2 separate regions of the Homo sapiens genome follow, and region 1 is linked to region 2. Evidence: promoter capture Hi-C in 16 types of primary human blood cells and fetal thymus (Javierre and others, 2016). All regions are on one chromosome and are shown on one strand. Each heading gives the region's core, a stretch centred on a gene start or on the middle of the fragment in contact. The rest is flanking DNA. Distances are from core to core; before and after follow the strand shown.

Region 1 (6,057 bases), core at 1,424-3,923, 250 kb after region 2:
TTGTTCTTTAAGCAAGTTCCCAATCCATTCCTCCTCACCAGGCAGGACCTCCTAACCAGAGCCTCCAGCCACCCCACCAGTGTTCTCTGGCCAACAGAGATTTGAAAACTCCCTGGGACAGAGCTTTCAGAGGGAAGGGTGGGCCACCATTTTTGTTGTTTGGGTGACTTAGCCGTTCCAGCCTGCAGTCTTTGGAAAGCCCACCTGACCAGGGCAGAAGTGGTACCCCAACATAACACAGCTGCTCTGTGAAAGTGTGGCCAGACTGCTTCTTTTTCTTTTTTTTTTTTTTTTTTGAGATGGAGTCTCGCTCTGTCACCCAGGCTGGAGTGCAGTGGCATGACCTCGGCTCACTGCAAGCTCTGCCTCCTGGGTTCACGCCATTCTCCTGCCTCAGCCTCCTGAGTACCTGGGACTACAGGCGCCTGCCACCACACCCGGCTAATTTTTTGTATTTTTAGTAGAGACGGGGTTTCGCCATGTTAGCCAGGATGGTCTCGATCTCCTGACCTCATGATCCACCCGCCTTGTCCTCCCAAAGTGCCGGTATTACAGGTGTGAGCCACCGCGGCCGGCCGCCAGACTGCTTCTTTAAAGCAGGTTCCTGATCCCGTTCCTCCTCACTGGGCAGAACCTCCCAAATGGGACCTCCAGCCACCCCTGCCGGTGTTCTCTGCCCAACAGAGATTTGAAAACTCCCCGGGACAGATTTCCGGAGGGAGGAGTGGGCCACCATTTTTGCTGTTTAGGTGACTTAGCCGTTCCAGCCTCTGGGCTCTGGAAAGCCCAAGCTGACTGGGGGAAGGAGAGGTACCCCAACACAGCACAGCTGCTCTATGAAAGCATGGCCACAGTGTCTCTTTAAGCAGTCCCTGATCCTCTTCCTCCTCACTGGGCAGAACCTCCCAACCGGAGCCTCCAGCCACCCCCACCGGTGTTCTTCAGCCTGCAGAAATTTGAAAACTCCCTGGGACAGAACTCCCAGAGGGAGGGGTGGGCCACCATCTTTGCTGTTTGGGTGACTTAGGAGTTCCAGCCTTCAGGCTTTAGAGAGTCCAAGCCAACCAGGGGTGGAAGTAGTATCCCAGCACAGCACAACAGACCCATGAAAACATGGCCAGACTGCTTTTTTAAGAGGGAGGACAAACTCATTCCTCATCACCAAGTGGAGCCTCCTAACCAGAGCCTCCAGCTACACTCACCAGTGTTCTCCAGCTGACAGAAGTTTCAGGACTCCTTGGGATGGATACCTCCTCCCCCAGGAGGAGGGGCAGGCTGCCATCTTGGCTGTTTGGTCAACTTAGCCATTCCAGCCTTTGGGCTTTGGAATGTCCAAGGTGACCAGGGGCTGAAGTGTATCCCCAGCACAGCACAGCTGCTCTATGAACATATGGCCAGACTACTTTTTTAAGGAGGTCCCAATCCCATTCTTTCTGACTGAATGAGACCTCCTATCTGGAGTCCCTGGCCATCTACAGATGCATTTGAGCCAGCAACAGGTCCATACCACCTTGGAACAGAACTTCCAAAGGAAGGGGCAGGCTGCCATCTGTGCTGTTTTGCAGCCTTCACTGGTGATACCTCCAGACACTGAAAAATCTGAGGTGACCATGCACTGGAGCAGACCCCCAGCATACTGTAGCAGCCTGACAGAAAGGTGGCCAGACTGTTAAAAGAAAAAAAAAATCCATCCAAAAGTCAGTAACCTCAAAGATTGAAGGCAAATAAGCCCAGAAAGATGAGAAGGAGTCAGTGCCAGACCACTGAAAACTCAAAAAGCCAAAGTGTCCTCTTTCTCCCAAATGACCACATAACCTCTCCAGCAAAATTTCAGATGAGGCTGAGATAGCTAAAATGACAGAAGTAGAATTCAGAATATGGAAAGTTCAGAATATGGAAAGTTCATGGAACTAAAGGAGTACATTGTAACTCAATGCAAGGAAGCTAAGAATCATGCTAAAATATTGCAGGAGCTAACAAAGTAGCCAGTATAGAGAAGACTGTAACTGACCTGATAGAGCTGAAAGACACAGTACAGGAACTTCATAATGCAATCACAAGTATTAATAGCAGAATACAACAAGCGGAGGAAAGAATATCAGAGCTTGAAGACTGCCTTTCTGAAATAAGACAGGCAGACGAGAGAGAAAAAATGAATAAAATGGAATGAACAAAACCTGCAAGAAAAAGAATGAGATTATGTGAAGAGACTGAATCTACGATTGATCAGTGTACCTGAAAGAGATGGGGAGAATGGAACCAACTTGAAAAACATATTTCAGTATATCCTTGAGAACTTCCTCAACCTAGCTAGAGAGGCCAGCATTCAAATTCAGGAAATGCAGAAAACCCCAGTGAGATACTCAATATGAATATCATCCCCTAAGACACATAATCATCAGATTCTCCAAGGTGGAAATGAAAGAAAAAATGTTAAAGGCAGCTAGAGAGAAAGGCTAGGTCACCTACAAAGGGAAGCCCATAAGACTAACAGCAGACCCCTCAGCTGAAATTCTACAAGCCAGAAGGGATTGAGGGCCGATATTCGACATTCTTAAAGAAAAACATTCCAACCCAGAATTTAATATTCAGCAAAACTAAACTTCATAAGCAAAGTAGAAATAAGATTTTTTCAGACAAACAAATGCTGAGGGAATTTGTTACCACCAGACCTGCCTTACTTCCTGAAGAAAGCACTAAATATGGAAAAGAAAGACCATTAGCAGACACTACAAAAACACACTGAAATGTACAGACCAGTGACACTATAAAGCAACCACGTAAGTCTGCAAAATAAACAGCTAACATCATGATGACAGGATCAAATCTATACATACCAATACTAACCTTAAATGTGAATGGCACAATGCCCCAGTTTAAAAAACATAGAGTGGCAAGCTGGATAGAGAACCAAAGTCCAATGGTATGGTATCTTCAAGAGAGTCATTTCACATGCAACAACACACATAGCCTCAAAATAAAGGGATGGAGGAAAATCTACCAAGCAAATGGAAAACAGAAGAAAACAGGGGTTGCAATCCTAGTTTCTGACGAAACAGACTTTAAACCAACACGATCAAAAAAGACAAAGAAGGGCATTACATAATGGTAAAGGGTTCAATTCAACAAGAAGATCTAACTATCCTAAATATATATGCGCTCAACACAGGGGCACCCAGGTTCATAAAGCAGGTTCTTAGAGACCTTCAAAGAGACTTAGATTCCCACACAATAATAGTGGGAGACTCTAAAACCCCGCTGACAATATTAGATTATTGAGAAAGAAAATTAACAAAGACATTCAGGACCTGAACTCAGCACTGGATCAAATGGACTTGATAGACACCTACAGAACTCTCCACCCAAAAACAAGAGAATATACATTCTTCTCATTGCTACATGGCACTTACTGTAAAGTTGATCACATAATTGGAAGTAAAATACTCCTCAGCAAATGCAAAGGAACCAAAATCATAAAAAACACTCTCTTGGACCACAGTGCAATCAAATTCAAAATCAAAACTAAGAAATTCACTCAAAACCATACAATTTCATGGAAGTTGAATAACATGCTCCTGAATGACTTTTTAATAAATAATGAAATTAAGGCAGAAATCAAGGAGTTCTTTCAAACTAATGAGAACAAAGATACCATATACCAGAATCTCTGGGACACAGCTAAGGGAGTGTTAAGAGGAAAATTTATAGCACTAAATGACCACATCAAAAAGTCAGATCTCAAGTTAACAACCTAACATCACAAAAGAAACTAGTTCTAAAAGAACTAGAGAACAAAGAACAAACAAATGCCAAAGTTAGCAGAAGTCAAGAAATAGAGCTGTACTGAAGGAGATAGTGACATGAAAAACCCTTCAAACAATCAATGAATCCAGGAGCTGGTTTTTTGAAAAAAAATTAATAAAATAGGTAAACCACTAGCTAGACTAATAAAGAAGAAAAGAGAGAAGATTCAAATAAACACAGCCAGAAACAACAAGGAGGATATTGGCACTGACCCCACAGAAATACAAACTACCATCAGAGAATATTATAAACACCTCTGTGCATATAAAGTAGAAAATGTAGAAGAAATGGATAAATTCCTTGACACATACCCCTTCAAAGACTGAAACAGGAATAAATTGAATCCCTGAATAGATCAATAACGAGTGGTGAAATTGTGGCAGTAAGAAATAGCCTACTGATCAAAAAAAGTTCAAGACCAGACAGATTCACAGCTCAATTCTTCCAGACATACAAAGAAGAGCTAGTACCATTCCTACTGAAGCTATTCCAAAAAATTGAGAAAGAGGGACTTCTCCCTAACTCATTCTGAGGCCAGCATCATAGAATGATACCAAAACCTGGCAGACATACAACAAAAAAAGGAAACTTTAGGCCAATATCCTAGATGAACATCAATGCAAAAATCCTCAACAAAATACTGGCAAACCAAATCCAGTAGCACATCAAAAAGTTTATCCACCATGATCAAGCAGGCTTCACTGTGGATGCAAAGTTGGTTCAACATACACAAATCAATAAATGTGATTCATTACATAAATGGAACCAAAGACAAAAAGCACATAATTTTCTCAATAGAATGCAGAAAAGGATTTTTATAAAATTCAACATTAATTCATGTTAAAAACTCTCCATAAACTAGGTATTGAAGGAACATACCTCAAAATAATAAGAGCCATGTATGACAAACCCACAGCCAACATCATACTGAATGGGCGAAGGCTGGAAGCATTTTCCTTGAAAACTGGCAGAAGACAAGGATGCCCTCTTTTGCCACTCCTATTCAACGTAGTATTGGAAATTCTGGCCAGGGCAATCAGGCAGGAGAAAAAAAATGAATGGCATCCAAATAGGAAGAGAGGAAGTCAAATTATCACTGTTTGCAGATGACATGATTCCATATCTAGAAAACACCATAGTCTCAGCACAAAAGTTTATAAGCTGATAAACAACTTCGGCAAAGTCTCAGGATACAAAATCAATGTGCAAAAATCACTAGCATTTCTATACACCAACAACAGTGAAGCTGAGAGCCAAATCAGGAAAAAATTCCCATTCACAATTGCCGCAAAAAGAAGAGATACCTAGAAATACAGCTAACTAAGGAGGTGAAAGGTCTCTACAAAGAGAACCACAAACCACTGCTCAAAGAAATCAGAAAGGACACAAACAAATGGAAAAATATTCCATGCTCATGGATAGGAAGAATCAACATCATTAAAATGGCTATACTGCCCAAAGCAATTGATAGATTCAATGCTATTCTTATTAAACTACCATTTACATTCTTCACAGAACTAGAGAAAACTATTTTAAAATTCATATGGAACCAAAATAGAGCCTGAATAGCCAAGGCAATTCTAAGCAAAAAGAACAAAGCTGGAGGCATCATGCTACCTGACTTCAAACTATGCTACAGGGCTCAGTAACCAAAATAGCATGGTACTGGCACAAAAACAGACACACAGACCAGTGGGACAGAATAGAGAACCCAGAAATGAGATCACACACCTGCAACTACCTGATCTTAGACAAACCTGAAAAAAACAAGCAATGGGGAAAGGATTCCCTATTCAATAAATGGTGCTGGTATAACTGGCTAGCCATATTGCAGAAGATTGGAACTGGATTCCTTCCTTACATCTTATACAAAAATTAACCCAAGATTGATTAAAGACTTAAATGTAAAACCCAAAACTATAAAAATCCTGGAAGACAACATAGGCAATACCATTCCGTATGCACGGCAAAGATTTCATGGTGAAGATACCAAAAGCAATTGCAACAAAAGCAAAAATTGACAAATGAGATCTAATTAAATGTAAGAGCTTCTGCACAGCAAAAGAAACTATCAACAGAATAAACAGACAACCTACAGAATGGGAGAAAATATTTGCAAACTATGTATCTGACAAAGGTCTAATATCCAGAGTCTATAAGGAACTTAAACAAATTTACAAGAAAAAAAACAAGCAACCCCATAAAAAAATGGGCAAATGACATGAGCAGACACATTTTGAAAGAAGACATACA
Region 2 (6,082 bases), core at 101-2,600:
CTTTCAATGGAAATTGTAAACAAGTGGGATCATATATTGAAACATTTCTTTGAAGAATTGTAACAGGAGATCAAACATAGCTTTCTCAGTATGATTCTGGATCAAAGCAATAGTTACCAAGAGGTGCAAGTGGTCCAGTCAAATCAAAAGTAGACTGGTCAAGAGCCGAAGTCATAGCAGCAGCTTTTTGGGATGCTCAAGGTATTTTGCCTGTTGACTTTCTGGAGGGTGGAAGAGCAATAACATCCGCTTACTATAGGAGAAAGTGAAGCAAAGCTTTAGCATAAAAACACCTACGAAATCTTCACCAGAGAGTCCTTCTCCATCAGGACAATGTTCCTGCTCATTCCTCTCTTTAAATAAGGGCATTTTTCCAGGGATTTCGATGGGAAACTATCAGGTATCCATCTTACATTCCTGACCTGGCTCCTTCTGACATATTTTTGTTTTCTAATCGTGAAAAATCTGTAAATGGCACCCATTTTTCTTCAGTTAATAACGTAAAAAAGCCTGCATTTTCATGATTAAATTCCCAGAACCCTCAATTCTTTACAGATGGACTAAAGAGCCGGTATCATCACTTACCAAACTGTCTTTAACTTGATGGAGCTTACGTTGAAAAACAAAGTTTATATTTTTAAATTTTATCTTTTAATTCCATTTCCCATGAACTTTTATTCTTTTAAAAACAAACCCAAGTATTTTAATTCTACTTGCCTTTTTTACTTATTACACACTTCGGGAGATTTTTTGCCATATGGAATCACCTCATCCCTTGTCACGATTGCATAATATTCCATAGTAGGAATGTTTCATGATTTATTTCTTCATTCCCCCACTGATTTCAATTTTCTGCAACTGCAAGCATTGTTCATAATTCTGTACTGTTTGTGAGCCTATATAGGAGTATCCGTGCACAAACCTTTTTATGCATTGTGCGAGGGTTACTCTGAGATAGACACCAAGGGAACTGCTGGGTCATAAATCCAATTTTTTCAAAGTAAATCCGCTTGCGAACCCGGAACCAAGTCGATTTTTCCCGCCCCGCCAGTTCCCTGTTCAGGAGAGTGCAGCCGTGATTGGCGCGTTCACTCAGGCCAGGGGCGCCCCAGGTCTCAGGTGCTAGGAGCGCGGTGACCTACCACCCTCCGGGCACGCGTTCTGGCCACGCCTCGCGGCCCCTTTCATTGAAAGAGCCCGTAGGGATCACGTGAAAGAACACTGCAGAGTGCGTGACGTCACGACGCTCACACCAATGGGAGCCTCTGTTTATGTCGGGAGCCATCAAATAGTCATCTTCCCCCTACCATCCCCCGCCCACTCTCCGTCGCGCTGCGCTGCGTCGCTTTCAGCCTCTGGTGAAGGGCGGCGCGCTTAGGCAGGCGGTGGCGCGGCTGGAGTGCCGCGGGGAGGGCTGTGCCGGTTGCTTTCTGCAGCCGCATCTCGGCCAGCTCTCCTCGCCGTCCCCGGGGCGCTGTGCGTCTCCAGTCCGGGACCGAAGCCGCCTGCCGTAGCGGGCGGCCAGATCCGCGTCCCGCCTCAGCGGCCGGAGGACATGCGGGAGAGAGAATGAGCCAGAGGGACACGCTGGTGCATCTGTTTGCCGGAGGGTAAGGTCCTGGCGGGGCGTGCGCACTGGGGCTGAGGGTGCTGGGGCCGAAGACGCAGGCGAGGGGGGCGAGGGGGGCCGAGGGGGGTGGGGGGGTGGGGGGGCGGGAGTGAGGCCTGGGCGGGGAGCTGCCACGGGCCTGCGGGTGAGGGGAGCGACCCAGCCCGTGGGTGGTGAGGGGGGCTCCGGTTCGGGGAAGCAAGGGGGTGAGGCCCGGGCCCGAGGGCGAGAGAGTGAGGCCCGGGCAAAGAGGGTTGAGGCATGAAACCCGGGCCGGGAGTGAGGTTTTGGGCCCGCGGGGCCGGGGTGAGGCGGAGGCCGAATCCATGCGTCTGAGGAGACGCGGGCAAGAGCTGGGGTCGGCGCTTGATTACCCGGACGCCGCTGGACCTGGCCGCACGCCGCAATCTAGCAGGCGTCGGGGATCCAGGGCCGCTTTGAGGAGCCTGGCTTCGGATTTCGCGTAGGTTGCATGGCCCAAGGGGACGGGGCGGAAAGTGCGGAGGCTGAGGACAAAATGGGCGCCGGAGACTCCTTTAGCCCTCGCTCCTTGCAGCGCTCGCTTGGGCCTCTGCACGTCACTCACGCCCCACCTCGGACCTCGGGCCGCTCATTTCCGGGCTCGGCTTTGCAAGGTGGGTGGTAAGGGGGCTACGGGATCGAGCGGGGAAGGCTTTGGTATTCTCCCGTGGTTGCTGTAGGGTGTTTCTAGCCCTTGGAAAATTTCTTGCCCGAGGTTTTCCAGGTGGTGAATGGGGTGCAAAGCTTTCCAGTACCTTTGGGGTCAGATTCCTTTCGAGAAAACCACCCCTCTTGAACACCGCTTGCTTTTCTGCTGCTTAGGAGAAAGTAGGAGTGGAGAGAGGTCAGATTTTTTGAAGATAGTGTTAATAGTTACTATGTGTGTGCAAGATTAGGACTAAGCCTAAAGTCTTAGTTCCCTGATTGCCAAAATGAGTGTTAGAGCTTCCAGTTTAGCCTCCTGTTTAGATTTGCTCCTTCTAAATCATTTGGAGAATCATAGCAATTTTAAGAGTTACTTATTTGGAGGATTATAAAGAGTTTTCTTATCAAAAATGCCTTCGGTGAATTATGCTGAGACTCTTACCGGCATCTTCTTAAATCCTGCAGTTTTTAGATCGACTTTTAAGAATATGAAAGAAATACACACGCAGTTCTATTCACGGTGCCTTGCTTTGAGTTGGACATATGGACTCTATTGAGCCAGTGATGGCAATACTTTCTTTAGGTTGGCACACTTTCATCAACAAATATTTGTTGTACACCAATTATGGGCCGGCCACTGTTCTGGCATAAAAACAATATTTTTCTATTGATCTGTGAGACCCAGTTTAGGCAGTTTGCTTTCCATATTTCTGAAATGTTTACTGCCAATAATCAGGCAAATTAAATCTTTTTAAAAAAATTCTGTAGCTATGTAGATGCTCTTGAAAAGATCTCATGCAAATAATTGAGCTCCCTCTTGTAATTAGATCTATAACCCTGAAGTGAGGAGACCGCAGATGTAGTCTAGCACTATTTTAATTTGGGTGAAAAATGGACACTTTTATTTCAATTGCTTCATCTATAAAATTAGGAGGTTGTATTATATGATCTCTAAAGCCCTTCTCTAGCTCCTAACATTTCTATTATTCTGCGTTCAGGATTCATGTATCAAGTTTAGTTAAAAATGGGGCATACTTATATTTGAAATAAATGTTAGCTTGATTGCACTAATTTCCCACTTTGGATTAGGATCATCATTTTGTTATAAAAACATGTAAATATAGGTTTTCTGGTTTAAGAACAGGAATGGGAGGTGTTTGTAGCATCTAAACACACAGATTAGGAGCTCCATCCCCTCCCCCCCAGTCTAGCATATGTAGTTAGAGTATTAAATGAGATATGGTATGTAGGATTTGATACAAGATAGGTGCTCAGCCGTATAATTTCTCTTCCTTTGCATCTCATCTTGATTTTATTTTTATATGTGGTTACATAAGTGAGTTCAGTAAAACACACCTTATCTTTTTAAAGGAAGCCCAGTATATTTTAAAAGAACCAAGAGTAACCTTTCACAGAGTATTTAATCTTAGGCAAGGGTTTTCCGAATATGGAGCCTTTAAGTTGTTTTTCTGATAAGTAGAATTGTAATATTCAAATATGTTTATCGGAATCCCACATTTCTAATAGCCTAGTAGCTGTATTGTTAAACACCAGCACTGGACCTTGGTTCTGGGTGAAATACTCACATGCATAACTCGTGCTTTCTTTAAGACACCCTTTGATCCCATTATGCTTTTGCCAGAGTTAATATTCAGAGTTTGTAAGGTCAGTAGTTAGGTTAATTGAGTTAAGGAACGATATCATGACAGCCTGTAAAAAAGGTGTAAATGTGATTTAATTTTAGCTGTACCTCTAATGTATGTATATAGAGATGAAAGCACTATTAAATGTATTTTTAAAGACTGATAGAATTGTACATTGTCTAGTTATTGTATCAGCTGCATATATCTACAGAGGCAGCTCATTTTTTTTCTATTTGAGGGAGATATTGTCTCAAATAGGAGCTATATACCTTAAGATTTTAAGTGGATGAAGTATTTTCTTTGCAGCTCTTATGACAGATAATTTAATATATGTAGTGAGTAAAATCAAAGATGATCTAAGAACTGTCTATTTTTATATCCTGGAGCTCATTCATTTGCTCAATCATTATTATTTATTCAGTAGGAAATTCCCATTTGGGTATAATGAACGATATTTGTTAAATTATTTCACCTGTTTGCTTGAAGATCAGGGCAGAAGTAGAATACTTAAAAGTATAATTAATGTGATTTATTTCCGCTTCACTCTGACCATATTTTTATTAGTCTCATTTCCTTAATTTTTACTACCTCTCCTTTTCCTCTGTCTTGCTCTGTTTAAGCTGCTATTACAAAATACCAAAAACTGGTGGCTTATAAATAACAAATATTTCTAACAGTCCTGAAGGCTGGGAAGTTCAAAATTAAAGCAGTAACAGGTTTTTTGATGATGGTCTACTTCCTCATAGAAGATACTCTCTTGCTGTATCCTCACGTAGTAGGAGAGGCTAGCCAAGATCTCTGGTGTCTTATAAAGGTACTAATCCCAAATGTCAGGGCTACAATCTCATGACCTAATCACCTTGAAAGCGTCTACCTCCTAATACTATCACCTTGGGATGTGAGTAGGATTTCATCTTACTAGTTTTGGGGGAGACAAACATTCAGACATCCTCCTTCCCTTTTTTTCCTTCTAAAAATGCATTCCGTTCTTCTTACTAATAGACTGCAAAACTAAGGGAAGTTTCTTATCCTGTTGGAGAATATTCTCAAATCATTTTTCTATAAATGAATTACTGTAGCACAGCAGCTACCATTTTTCTGCAAATGGATTAGTGTAGCACAACATTGTGGGTCAGGGATTCTCCTTCTTGAGACCCTTGTTGTGGTCTGAGAGTTTAAAACTATTTTCATAAAAATACATTATTGGCACAAATTTGTTGACATTTGTCCTGATGGTGCAAAAGCAATGATGGGTAAAACTGCTGATGCCTTAGCATGCATGAAGGCAGTGGCACCAGACTGTAGTCATCGTATTCACCTCCAGGTACTTGCAATTAAAAAAAAAAAAAAAAGCCAGTTTAACCTAAGAATGCTCATGAAGGAGTAAAAATACTAATTTTATTAAATCACAACCTTTGAATACCTCTATATTTAATATTTTGTGTGACAAAATGGGAAATAGACATGAAGTAACTGTATGCCGAAGTGTGGTTCTGCGTTGTTTCAATTGCAGGCTACACTAGCTTCTTTTTTTCATGGAGTCAGCCATGGGTAAAAAAGTCATTCAGATTTTAAAATAGACCAGTGGATTTTAATATAACAGTATGAAAAGTTTACTGGTATAGTTCAGATTCTACATTTCAGCTAACCTTTAAGAACCTACCACTTGTCTGGTTGTAATATAGTATTGAAGAATATCGACAACCGGACAGCAAGACAAGGGACTGTCTTGTCTAGTAATTGTTATCATTAACTAGAAGGCATTAAGTGCTGTGGGAAAAAAAATGGTGCACCTTAAAGGACTGTGGTAGGAGTGCACTCTAGTACTAAATCGAATGATGATGAATCTTACTGAGATGACATTTGAGTAAAGACTTGGAAGGGAGAGAATTAGCTATACAAAAGGAACTAGCCCCAGTAAGACCCTAGCCCTGGTAAGAGTGAGATAATGAAGCAGGTATGGCCAGAATGATAGAGCCTTCTTAAGCCTTTAAAGGACTTTGACCTTTTCTATTGAAATGGGAGGAGTCATAGAATTTTTAAAGGCTAATTGGTCTCTGCTAGACTATGCGTGGGACAGGGGCAGAAGTAGGGAGTTGATCAGGCTATTTCAATAATCCACTTGACTGATAATGGTGATTCAGACTAGGTTGGAAGCAATGGA

The links. The method cuts DNA at HindIII sites, captures the fragments that hold promoters and counts their contacts. A CHiCAGO score of 5 or more calls a contact.
Region 1: a fragment that was not itself captured here is called in contact with the fragment with the promoter of SLC25A36 in region 2 in 1 of 17 cell types (fetal thymus); the score reaches 6.1 in fetal thymus.

The regions. Positions count from the first base shown.
Region 1 is chr3:141,193,762-141,199,818 of GRCh38, forward strand. No RefSeq gene overlaps it. Among named protein-coding and RNA genes, the nearest start is that of PXYLP1, 35 kb to the right of the region's middle. The HindIII fragment of the contact is 8,441 bases long and covers 1-6,057 here.
Region 2 is chr3:140,940,486-140,946,567 of GRCh38, forward strand. SLC25A36 (solute carrier family 25 member 36) reads left to right here and starts at 1,351. Exons shown (of 7, transcript NM_001104647.3): 1 at 1,351-1,610. The coding sequence starts at 1,570. RefSeq lists enhancers at 1,325-1,694, 1,788-2,635, 2,275-2,504. The HindIII fragment of the contact is 2,098 bases long and covers 275-2,372 here.